2 separate regions of the Homo sapiens genome follow, and region 1 is linked to region 2. Evidence: promoter capture Hi-C in 16 types of primary human blood cells and fetal thymus (Javierre and others, 2016). All regions are on one chromosome and are shown on one strand. The core of a region is centred on a gene start or on the middle of the fragment in contact, and the rest is flanking DNA. Distances in the headings are between cores, read along the strand shown.

The links. The method cuts DNA at HindIII sites, captures the fragments that hold promoters and counts their contacts. A CHiCAGO score of 5 or more calls a contact.
Region 1: a fragment that was not itself captured here is called in contact with the fragment with the promoter of BORCS6 in region 2 in 1 of 17 cell types (naive CD8 T cells); the score reaches 5.0 in naive CD8 T cells.

Annotation. Positions count from the first base shown.
Region 1 is chr17:8,947,218-8,952,598 of GRCh38, reverse strand. The region is part of intron 1 of PIK3R5 (phosphoinositide-3-kinase regulatory subunit 5); the gene reads left to right. Among named protein-coding and RNA genes, the nearest start is that of PIK3R5, 16 kb to the left of the region's middle. The HindIII fragment of the contact is 2,759 bases long and covers 870-3,628 here.
Region 2 is chr17:8,186,260-8,191,466 of GRCh38, reverse strand. BORCS6 (BLOC-1 related complex subunit 6) reads left to right here and starts at 1,287. Exons shown (of 1, transcript NM_017622.3): 1 at 1,287-3,122. The coding sequence starts at 1,327. The coding sequence ends at 2,400. It overlaps LOC124903913 (a long non-coding RNA gene), which reads left to right. Exons shown (of 2, transcript XR_007065604.1): 2 at 1-192. TRW-CCA3-3 (tRNA-Trp (anticodon CCA) 3-3) reads right to left here and starts at 5,109; the gene lies at 5,038-5,109. TRS-GCT4-3 (tRNA-Ser (anticodon GCT) 4-3) reads right to left here and starts at 4,601; the gene lies at 4,520-4,601. It also overlaps MIR4521, TRT-AGT1-1 and TRI-AAT5-5. RefSeq lists enhancers at 828-1,473, 1,216-1,495, 1,474-2,120, 3,259-3,308, 4,739-4,848 and silencers at 1,606-1,655, 1,856-1,915, 1,986-2,035, 4,169-4,278, 4,529-4,578 and 1 more. The HindIII fragment of the contact is 3,696 bases long and covers 196-3,891 here.

The DNA of each region.
Region 1 (5,381 bases), core at 1,000-3,499, 760 kb before region 2:
ACTAACTGGCCAGCCCAGTTTGCTCCAATGAGTGTCTGGCCTTTAAATAGCTCAATCCCTGCTGCTCTCCCTAGAGTAGGACACACAGAGGTGGGGACTCCATGTAGAAAACCTGTGCTCCAGAAGTCATGTCTGTAGGATGACTTCACCTTTTATGAGGTGTCTCTATCAAGGAAATTTTGGGTATACCGTGTGGTCTTTAAGTCAGACCATAAACCATATTCTACAAATTCAGGGGAAATCCACCAGCTGTAACTAAATGGCATAGTAACAGAAAAACAAAAACATCATTTCTCTTATTAGGTAACTCAGCATTCACTGAAATATTAGTTGGTCTACTGGTTTCTCTGTTGGATTGGAGAGACCCAAAATAATAGTGGCTTAAACAAGATAGAGGTTTATTTCTGTCTCAGGTAGCAAGCTGGGCATAAGTGATCCAGACTTCACATGACAGCTTTATAGGTTGGGAACCAAGGTTCCTTTTGTGTCATTGCTCTGCCTTCTTCAACATGTAGCTCTCATCTCATGGTCCATAATGGCTGCTCTAGCAATTGCCATCGCATCTGCATTCCAGCTAGCAAGAAGGGGAAAGGGGGAAGGGAAGTGCATGCCTCTTCCTTCTAAAAGCATGACTTGGAAATTGCACTTATCAATGTCTATTCATATTCCAGTAGCCAGAATGTAGTCATATGGTCATACTTAGTTACAAGAGTCTGGGAAACGTGATCTAAAATTCCTAAAAGTTATATCCCCATAGAAGGAAGGAGAATAGATATGGAAGAACAATTTTGAGTCTCATCCACATTTGAACTTTGTGAATCTTCACTGTTACATAGATGTTCTTTATCCCTTCTGTTGTGGAGTAAGCTTGCCTCCTAAGCCCTGCTGAAAACTATTAATAAAAAACAGCATGCTACACCAAAAGGTCAAACTAACCCAAATGTCCATTAATGGATAAATGGATAAACAAAATGTGTATATACATTCAATTGAATATTATTGATCCTTAAAAAGGAATGAGGTTCAAACACATGCTACGATATGCATGAACCTTGAAGACATTATGCTAAGTGAAGTAAGCCAGACACAAAAGGATAAATACTGTGTGATTCCACCCAAATGAGGTAGCTAGAGTAAACTCATAGAAACAGAAAGTAGATTAGAGGTTACCAGAGGCTGGGGGGAGAAGTGGCGGGGAGTTAGTGTTTATTGGGTATGGAGTTTCAGTTTAGGAAGACGAAAAAGTTCTGTGAATGGATGGTGGGGATGGTTGCACAACATTGTGAATGTACTTAATGTCACTGAACTGTATACTTAGAACTGTACGCACAAAACTGTACACACACAACCTACAGAATGGGAGAAAATATTTGCAGACTATGCATCTGTCAAAGGTCTAATATCCAGAGTCTATAAGGAACTTAAACAAATCAACAAGCCAAAACCAAATAACCCCATTTAAAAACAGGCAAAGGACATGAACAGACACTTCTCAAAAGAAGACGTACAAATGGTCAACACACATATCAAAGATAATGCTCATTATCACTGATTATGAGGGAAATGCAAATCAAAACCTTAACAAGATACCATCTCGCACCAGTCAGAATGGCCACTATTGAAAAGCCAAAAAACAACAGATGCTGGCGAGGCTGTGGAGAGAAGGGAACACTTACACATTGTTGGTGGGAGCGTAAATTAGTTCAACCACTATAGAAAGCAGTTTGGAGATTTCTCAAAGAACTTAAAACAGAGCCACCATTTGACCCAGTGATCTCATTACTGGGTATATTCCCAAAGGAAAATAGCTCATTATACCAACAAGACACATGTACTCACATGTGTTCATCACCCCACTATTCACAATAGCAAAGACATGGAATCAACCTAGGTGCCCATTGATGGTAGATTGGATAAAGAAAATGTTCTACATATAAACCATGAAATACTATGCAGCCGTAAAAAAGAATGAAGTCATGTCCTTTGCAGCAACATGGATGGAGCTGGAGGCCATAATCCTAAGCAAATTAATGTAGGAATGGAAAACCAAATACCATATGTTCTCTCTTACAAGTAGGAGCTAAACACTGAGCACAAGTAGACATAAACATGGGAGCAATAGACATTGTGGACTCTCAGTGGGGAGAGAGGGAAGGGTGAGGATTGAAAAACCTCCTATTGAGTACTGTGCTCACTACCTGGATGCAATATACCCATATAACAAACCTGCACCTGTATCTAACATAAAAGTTGGAATTAAAAAAATACTTACAATCGTAAATTTTATATTGCATATATTTTACCACAATCATGCTATAAAGGACCAAAGGCAGGGTTCTCTGGCATTTTAGGAGCAATGTCCCTACAGATGAAGCTACTCAACACCCTTTGGGTGAGGTTATGAAGCCAGTAATGAATCCATCTATCTGTGTTATCATTCGTATTTTTTACATCATCATGAAACTATATAGCAAGACTTGCTCAAATTCAGATATGCTGCTATTGTGGCTGTTCTTCTATTACCTCTTTAGTCAGTGAATCCATTGATCCCTATTGGCTGCTGGTGGTTCCTGGATCTTTCCCTTAGCATTCACAAACTGTCTTTTAATAATGTATAGAGAATGTTGCCAGGGGACTGGTGGACTCAGACATGTACTTTAAAAAATTCCACTTAAAAAAATTGTTTTTAAATTTTTATTTTCATAGATTTTTGGGGAACAGGTAGTATTTGGTTACGTGAGTAAGTTCTTTAGAGGTGACTTGTGAGATTTTGGTGCAGTGTACGTTGTACCTAATGTGTAGCCTTTTATCCCTCACCCACTTCCCACCTTTCCCCTGCTAAGTCCCCAAAATCCATTGTATCATTCTTATGCCTTTGCATCCGTATAGCTTAGCTCCCACTTATGAGTCAGAACATATGATGTTCGGTTTTCCATTCCTGAGTTACTTCACTTAGAATAATAGTGTCCAATCCTATTCAGGTTGCTGCAAATGCCATTACAGAATTCTCCCTTTCTTTTTCTGTTCCTCACGATGACGACAACATTTTCTAATCTGTCTCTGTCTTTCTCTGTCTCTGTCTCTTATACATCTTTCATTTTCTCTGATTCTTCAAAGATAATCGGTAGCAGCTCCCTTTCACAACCTCAAGTTTCTTTATGACTCTGAGATGCCTTTATTCTCTTCTGCAATCCTAAACTCATTTTCAGCAGCAAGCCTCCCTATTTGGCATCAGATGTTTCAATATCGGACCCTTTCCCCGCAATCTACCTTTCACCCTGTGGCTGGTACAACCTTCCAAATCCAAAAGCTGATGTGTCATTCACCAGCTCGAAATTTAGCAGTGGCTCCACATGGCGCTTGAGTAAACCCTTAAGCACTTAGCTTGGCAGATAAGGCTGTTCACAGTCTACCATGCCAGCCCATGCAGCATCATCTCCCAGCGTGCCCCATGTCATGCCTACCCTTCAGTAGGGCTGAACTGCCAGCATTTCCCTAAAGGAACCATGCTGTCTCCCGCCTCTTGCCTCAGTTTATTTTCCTACCATGAGATTCATGCCTGAATCTCACCCAGGGCAGCTCCTCCTTCCTGAAATGTTATCTCGGGAGTCACCTTTTTGGAGAAGCTTTGCTAATAGACATTCTCCCTCCTCCAAGTTCCTATGGCACCTGTCCCATATTAGCCTCCACTGGGACACCTAACCCACTGGGTAGTTTCTAGTTTGAGAGTTATTTTGGATGGTGCTTCTCTGAACTTCCTGTTGCATGTCCACTGGGCATGTAGCTAGGAGGCATATACCTGGGGCCTGGAGCATGCTGAAGTTGAGCTTTAGGGTCTGATAGAGCATCTTCCACTGGGTATGTTGTCGTACCAGCGTACATTCCCCGCAGCAGCCGTGAGGGTTTGCGTGGCTTCACATCCTCACAACAGTGCTTTTTTTTGCCTTTTTCATTTTGGCCCTTCTGCTGGGTGTGTAGTGGTATTGCCTTGTGGTGGGAATGTGCACTTCCCTTCTGACTAATGAAGCGGAGCACCTCTCCACATGTTTAGTGGCCATTTGGACACCCTCTTCTGTGAAGCGTCTATTCAAGCCTTTTGTCCAGTTTTCTACTGGGTTGTCTTTTTCATATTTTTCTGTTGCTCCTTCACATTGTGTAGTGACCTCTCAATCCTCCTCCTGGCCACGAGCTCTGTGAGATTTCTGGACCCCCAGTGCCTAGTGAAGTCCCTCAAATAGTAGACCCTCAATACATATTTTCTGCTGACTAAATAAAACATCTGTGATTCATGCTTTCCAGTGGGTTAACCATTCTCCTTACAATGGTAAAGCTTATCATGGTAAAGCTTTAGCTCCTACTTATAAGTGGAGGAAAAGATGGAGGCAACATAGGAGCGCATTTCGGCTTTCTCTCATGCGTCGGCCACTGTCTTGAGTTACTGGCCTGATTTCTTCTGGTTTGGACTCTGAAAATAGCTTTACGGGTCCTTTTTGATGTATGCTGCATTTTTCTTTTTCTTTTCTTTTCTTTTCTTTTTTTTTTTTTTTTTTTTTTTTAAGACGGAGTCTCGCTCTGTCGCCCAGGCTGGAGTGCAGTGGCTCAATCTTTGCTCACTGCAAGCTCCGCCTCCCGGGTTCACACCATTCTCTTGCTTCAGCCTCCCAAGTAGCTGGGACTACAGGCGCCCGCCACCACACCTGGCTAATTTTTTGTGTTTTTAGTAGAGATGGGATTTCACCGTGTTAGCCAGGATGGTCTGGATCTCCTGACCTTGTGATCCACCGGCCTCGGCCTCCCAAAGTGCTGGGATTACAGGCATGAGCCACCGCACCCAGCTGCTGTATTTTTCTTAAGGCTTGCTTTCATGATACGCTCATTCTCTCTCTTTCGTATCACCTTAACTTGGGGACCTTGATTCCATCTTGACGTATGCCCCAGGAAGTCACACTGGCTCCTTCACATTTCCGCCTCTTTTCTCCCTTGTGACACTCTCTGACTTGCCTTCAGAGCTTAATTTTCCATTTTCTTTCCCTGTTAAGCCACCCTCTCTGACTTCCAGCCTCTTGTTGTTGTTGTTGTTTTAATAGACTAGATACGCACGGAAACAATTCCCAGCCCCTTGGATAGCTGCTTTCATAAAGTCTATGACTCGCGTCTGACTATGTCTAGCATTTTCTTCCGTGATTACTACAAACCCCAGTCATGGGTCCTTTTCTCCCCATTTTCCTCTCACTGCTATTTCACAAAGCTTTCATTGTTCTTGGTGAGAATTAAAGGCAGAAGATAGGACAGTAATCTTCCTCATCACTAACTTGACCTTCCAACAGATGAGATGACCGAGGAGCAGGGATTCATTTAAGAGCCCGGCTCCAACCTAATCA
Region 2 (5,207 bases), core at 38-2,537:
GCTTGTAATCCCAGCTACCCGGGAGACTGAGTTAGGAGAATCGCGTGAACCCAGGAGGCGGAGGTTGCAGTGAGCCGAGATCGCGCCACTGCACTCCAGCCTGGGTGACGGAGTGGGACTCTGTCTCTAAATACATAAATAAATAAATAAATAAATAAATAAATAAATAAATAAAAATACTGATGTCTCCAAGCTTTGGCTATGTGTTGCAATGTACAACCTTTCCAATGTCGCTGCACCATTGCATTTAGAGGAAATCTCCATTCCCTAACAGGAACTACAAGGCCCCCTGCATGACGTGGCCCCTGCTGCCTGTTCAGCTCCTTGGCTCGAAATCCTTCCCCTTATCTTGCTGATTTTGTTTTAGTCCCAATGTCTCCTGCCCCCTCACCTCAGTTTCTTGAATACGTCAAGACTTCTTTGTCTCTGAGAGGTAGCTCAAGTTTTCTTCTCTCTGCCTGGGGGGTGGCTGCGTCTTTTTGGTTCTTTTTAGTTAAAAGTCTCACCAAAGAGGTATTTTCCTGACCCCTTACCTAAACTAGTGCCTGCTCAGTTATATTCTCAATCATAACACTTTATTTCCTGTATAGCACATATCAAAATTTGTGATCATTTCATTTGTTGAATATTTTACCTCGTGGCAAAATCACACGCCATCCTCCAAGGGGCGAGACCCCTCAGTGTGAAAGGGGCAAGAGACACAGAACAAGAGTGACAAACGCATAGGAAAGCCCAGAGGCCGCTGCCTTGACCACAGTGGGTCGCTCTGAGCAGTTCAGTGGTTAGGTCTCTTAACCAAGAAAGATAGAGCAAACCATTCATGCTCATGCTGGACTTCTGGTTTCCTTCTTTTTAGTCAACTAGGTTCAACCCTGATGGTCCAAGAAGGATATGCCATTTTCATCCTAAGAACCTCTCTAGGAACCCCAAGTGGGCTCCCCACTTGGTATTTTTGCTAAGCAATCACTGTTGGGGGGGGTACAATTACAGGCAGAAAGGATCTGAGCCCCACCCCTCGGGACTCAGGAATTTGAGGACCTTGGTCTTTAAGATCTGCCCCATCAGCTTTCAGAAAGGGCGGGGCGACGGGAGCAGCTGTCACCTCCTTCTCTCCACCCTGCCGGCGTTCACGTGTGTTCCGCTGTGCAGTAACAGCTCTTCTTCCGGGACTTCCTGGTCGCCGCGACCAATCAAAATGCTTTTCCTGTCCTTACCATTGTCAGCCGCTGCCAATCGGCTCGCCTCTACCAACGCCCCTTAAAGGCGCAGCCACTGCCTCCGGAGCCGGGGCGAACCAATTCCTCCGTTGCGGCCCCCACCTGCAGTATGGAGTCGTCTCGGGGGCGGCCCGGGCCCGAGACGGACCTTCTGGCTGTAGCGGAACATCAGGCCCTAGTCTTTGGCGGCGGGCCGGGCCGAACGTCCTCTGAGCCGCCCGCAGGCCTCCGGGTGTCCGGGGAGGAAGAGACCGAGAACGTTGGGGGCGCGAACCGCCACCCCAGGACGTCCCCGAAGACGTCAAGCTGCGGCGTCGTCCACCGGCCGGAACGGGAGGCTCTGGAGAACGAGCCCGGCCCTCAAGGGACGCTGTCTGGGGCCGGGAGCCGCAGGGGGGCGCCGGGTGCAGAGCACGAACCTTCCCTGTCCTCCCGGCACAAGAACCCGGCGCCGCCCGAGGGCAAGCCCTCCTCCGGGAGGGACTGCCGTCGAGGGGGACCAGGCGGCGGGATGGATGTTGAGCAGCAGGAGGAGGAAGACAACGACGAGGAGGCGGCCGCGGGCAGCAGAGCCGGCCGCTCGTTCTCCAGCCGTCTTCAGGACAGCCGCAGCCTGGACGGGCTGAGCGAGGCGTGCGGTGGCGCCGGGTCCTCAGGGAGTGCCGAGTCCGGCGCGGGCGGCGGACGCCGCGCCACCATCTCCAGTCCCCTGGAGCTCGAAGGCACAGTGAGCCGCCACGGCGACCTTACCCACTTTGTCGCCAACAACCTGCAACTCAAGATCCGTCTGAGCGGCGCGCCTCCACCCCCGCCTTCTGCCCCTGCGCGGCCCTGCCCAGCGCCTGCACCCACACCCACACCGGCCATTCCCCCAATCGACCCCGAGGTGCTGCGGGATCTGGAGCGGTTGAGTCGGGAGCTGGGAGGCCGGGTGGACCGTCTGCTTCGCGGTCTGGGTGGCGCGGTGCAGGAGCTGACGGCGCTGAGCGTGGGTTGCATCCAGACCTACCGCGATGCTGTGGACTCCTTAGGTGAAGCCGTGGACATGAGCATCAAGGGCATGTACACCCTGCTGGCGCGCTGCGAGGAGCTGGAGCGGGCTCTGCAGCCGGTTCAGGGGCTGGCGCGCCAAGTCCGGGATATCCGACGTACTCTGGAGGTGTTGGAGGCCCTGTGCAAGTGACCAGGAGGACAGGAGAGGCCGGTCCTGGCCAGGGCAGGGCCCAGCAGGACCCTAAGGACTCTTCAGGGAGTCCTGGTGGGAAGTGCCCACTGAGGGGAGGCCTGTGTGTTGGAGGCTCTTCCAGATGCGTTCAGCTGGCCCGTGCCCACTCGCTGGGCCTTAGGCTGGTGTATGTGGGGAAGTTCTAACGGCTCTCCTGGTGGGAAGGGATGTTGCTCTGCTTGTATTCAGTTGGCCATCTGTAGCTACCCTGTTCTTCCCAACTCTCCTCCCTAGCTAGAGCACCAGCCCTGGGAACACGGGGCTTTAGGTCTGCTTGAAGGTGAGGACGTGACTCCCACATGTAATCAGGAGAAAGGGACAGAGGAAGCCCCAGCCCCCACTGTGGCTATCCTGACTCCAGTGGCCACATCTCAGGTGCCAGGGGCTGTGGGAGCTTGTGCCGTCCTTGGCCAAACACCCCGCAGGCAAAGATGCACCCCTGCTGATGGAGAGCCTTCTGCTTCTGCCCTCTGGCCCTCTACCATACCACTTCCCCAGCCAGAACCGGCGTGCAGCTAGGAGGAATGGGTTGCACGGCGGAGGGGGTGAGGTGGGAGGCGTCTCACTGCTCTCAGGGTTCAGGTAGAATGTTGCTGGTTTTGAAGCTCACCTGTTGTGGAGTGTTCTAATCAGTTTTGGCTTTCTGAGTTTTTGTGGAATTAAAGTGCTGCTGCTGCGAAGGCTGAGGCTGAGTCTGTGTGGGGTTGCAGTGATTAATAAGCCAAAGGAATGGGAATGAGGGTCGGTGTTGTTCACGCAGCTCCCTTGGGGCTGGTGCTGGGAGTGGGGTGGGGGTGGAGATGTCTCAGGCTCCGTGGGGAAAGATATGGTTCTTGCTCTTAAGCATCTGGTCTGAGGGGAAATGTGAGGACACAGATAATCACTCACAGGGGCCCAGAGATCCGGTAACCACAGAAACGTAAAAAAGATGCTCTAGAAGAGAAGGGGAAGAAATTGTCTTCTCAGGTCCTCATGAATAGGCAGGGGCTGGGTGGATTGGACGGACATCTTACCTCTGGGGGAAGACTGGGAACACTTGTCAGCTCTATTCCTGACCATTTCCCACACTCTGCAGATCAGTGCCACGTGGTTTGAGACAAATTTGTCCCAAAGCCTTTTGTTTACAGTTCACACAGTAAGTTCAGGAGCCATATATTGTGGCCATAAGATGTAGAAGCAAAGATCACGAAACAACCCCGGTTTCTCTCAATCCCTTCCTCTCAAGACACGCCCACTTTAGAATGCGCTCCAATACGCTCCCTGTTCTGGGATTGGAAATGTGGCGCTGTTTTTCCCCAGAGACGTTACTTGGCTCTAAAACGGAGTGCAGTAATCGTACTTTCGAAAAGTTTCAATCCTGGCCCGTACGGGGATCGAACCCGCGACCTTGGCGTTATTAGCACCACGCTCTAACCAACTGAGCTAACCGGCCAGTTGCTACGAAAAGCTTGAAATAAATCTATTTAGTTACAATACTGTTCAGTTCTCTCGGGAAAAACCTTCAGTTGTGGGACTGCTTTATGAGAAATGAAAACAGAACACAAACACTGACTAACTGAGCACCTAGACGAGTAACAGACAGTACTGGCAAGTACAGATGATGCGACTGGTGTAACTGCAGGTCGAGGCGCAAGTACCATGTGCACGAAGAGCAAAAACCCAACAGCGTGTGGCAGATGCACCGGGAGAGGATAGATGGGTACGTGAGTAAACCATGTAGGATGGAAGTTATGAGTTTCTGCAACTGTCCTCACAATGTTTAATGTTGGCAAAAGCGTGGGGGAAACACGGAGGCACCGCTGGGATTCGAACCCAGGATCTCCTGTTTACTAGACAGGCGCTTTAACCAACTAAGCCACGGCGCCGCCGGAAAGACGCTTAGGATCTTGTTTCCTTGGCCAGGTCAGCTGAATTGCAGAGAATGAATACAAAGATGTCACAAAAAGTCGGCTGCATACGAAAATGAGGAAAGGATGGATGCAGCTGGGAAAGACACGAAAACTGAATGGAGTGACTGGGGGTAACAAGAGAAATCCTAGTTTTGATGCTACAAAACTGAGCACAGGACTTCCTTAGCCGACGAGGATGGGATTCGAACCCACGCGTGCAGAGCACAATGGATTAGCAGTCCATCGCCTTAACCACTCGGCCACCTCGTCTGCAGACAGCCCTCGCTGTTCAGACTGCCCTCCGCATCTCACTTCTCTGGAACCTGAACTTCCTGCAGGTGGGGCTCGCCTACGTCGTGAAGGCTGCACATTTGGAAGGAATCCGCTCGGCACTGGAAAGAGAACTCGTAGATCAGAGACCGACTTCTTCCATGCGTGATGGCCCGACCCTCGTCCCTCTGCTGAGAGGTCTAGAACTGCTCCTGTCTTAGGACCCGCGTTATCCGCCCAGAATTACGGTACCCGGATCCATCGCAAAAATCCCCGCGCGATGGTTGGGCTGTCCAGACGGGGCGGCCTTGGAACTTCCAGAAACCCCTCTCCTTCAGGCCCCAAGGAGATATTGCTTCTTCAATGACCTGAACGCTGAAGCTCGACCGTAGTTTAAAATAAAGGGGGTTAATAAAAACCGAAGAAAAATAGCCGCTGACCCCGACGTGATTTGAACACGCAACCTTCTGATCTGGAGTCAGACGCGCTACCGTTGCGCCACGAGGTCGGCCGGCCACTCGGCAGCTCAGGTCTCCCCATGACCACTGTGCGCCCTGGAGGCCAGGGTCATGAATCGAGGCATGGATGGGCACCTAGGGCATTTCT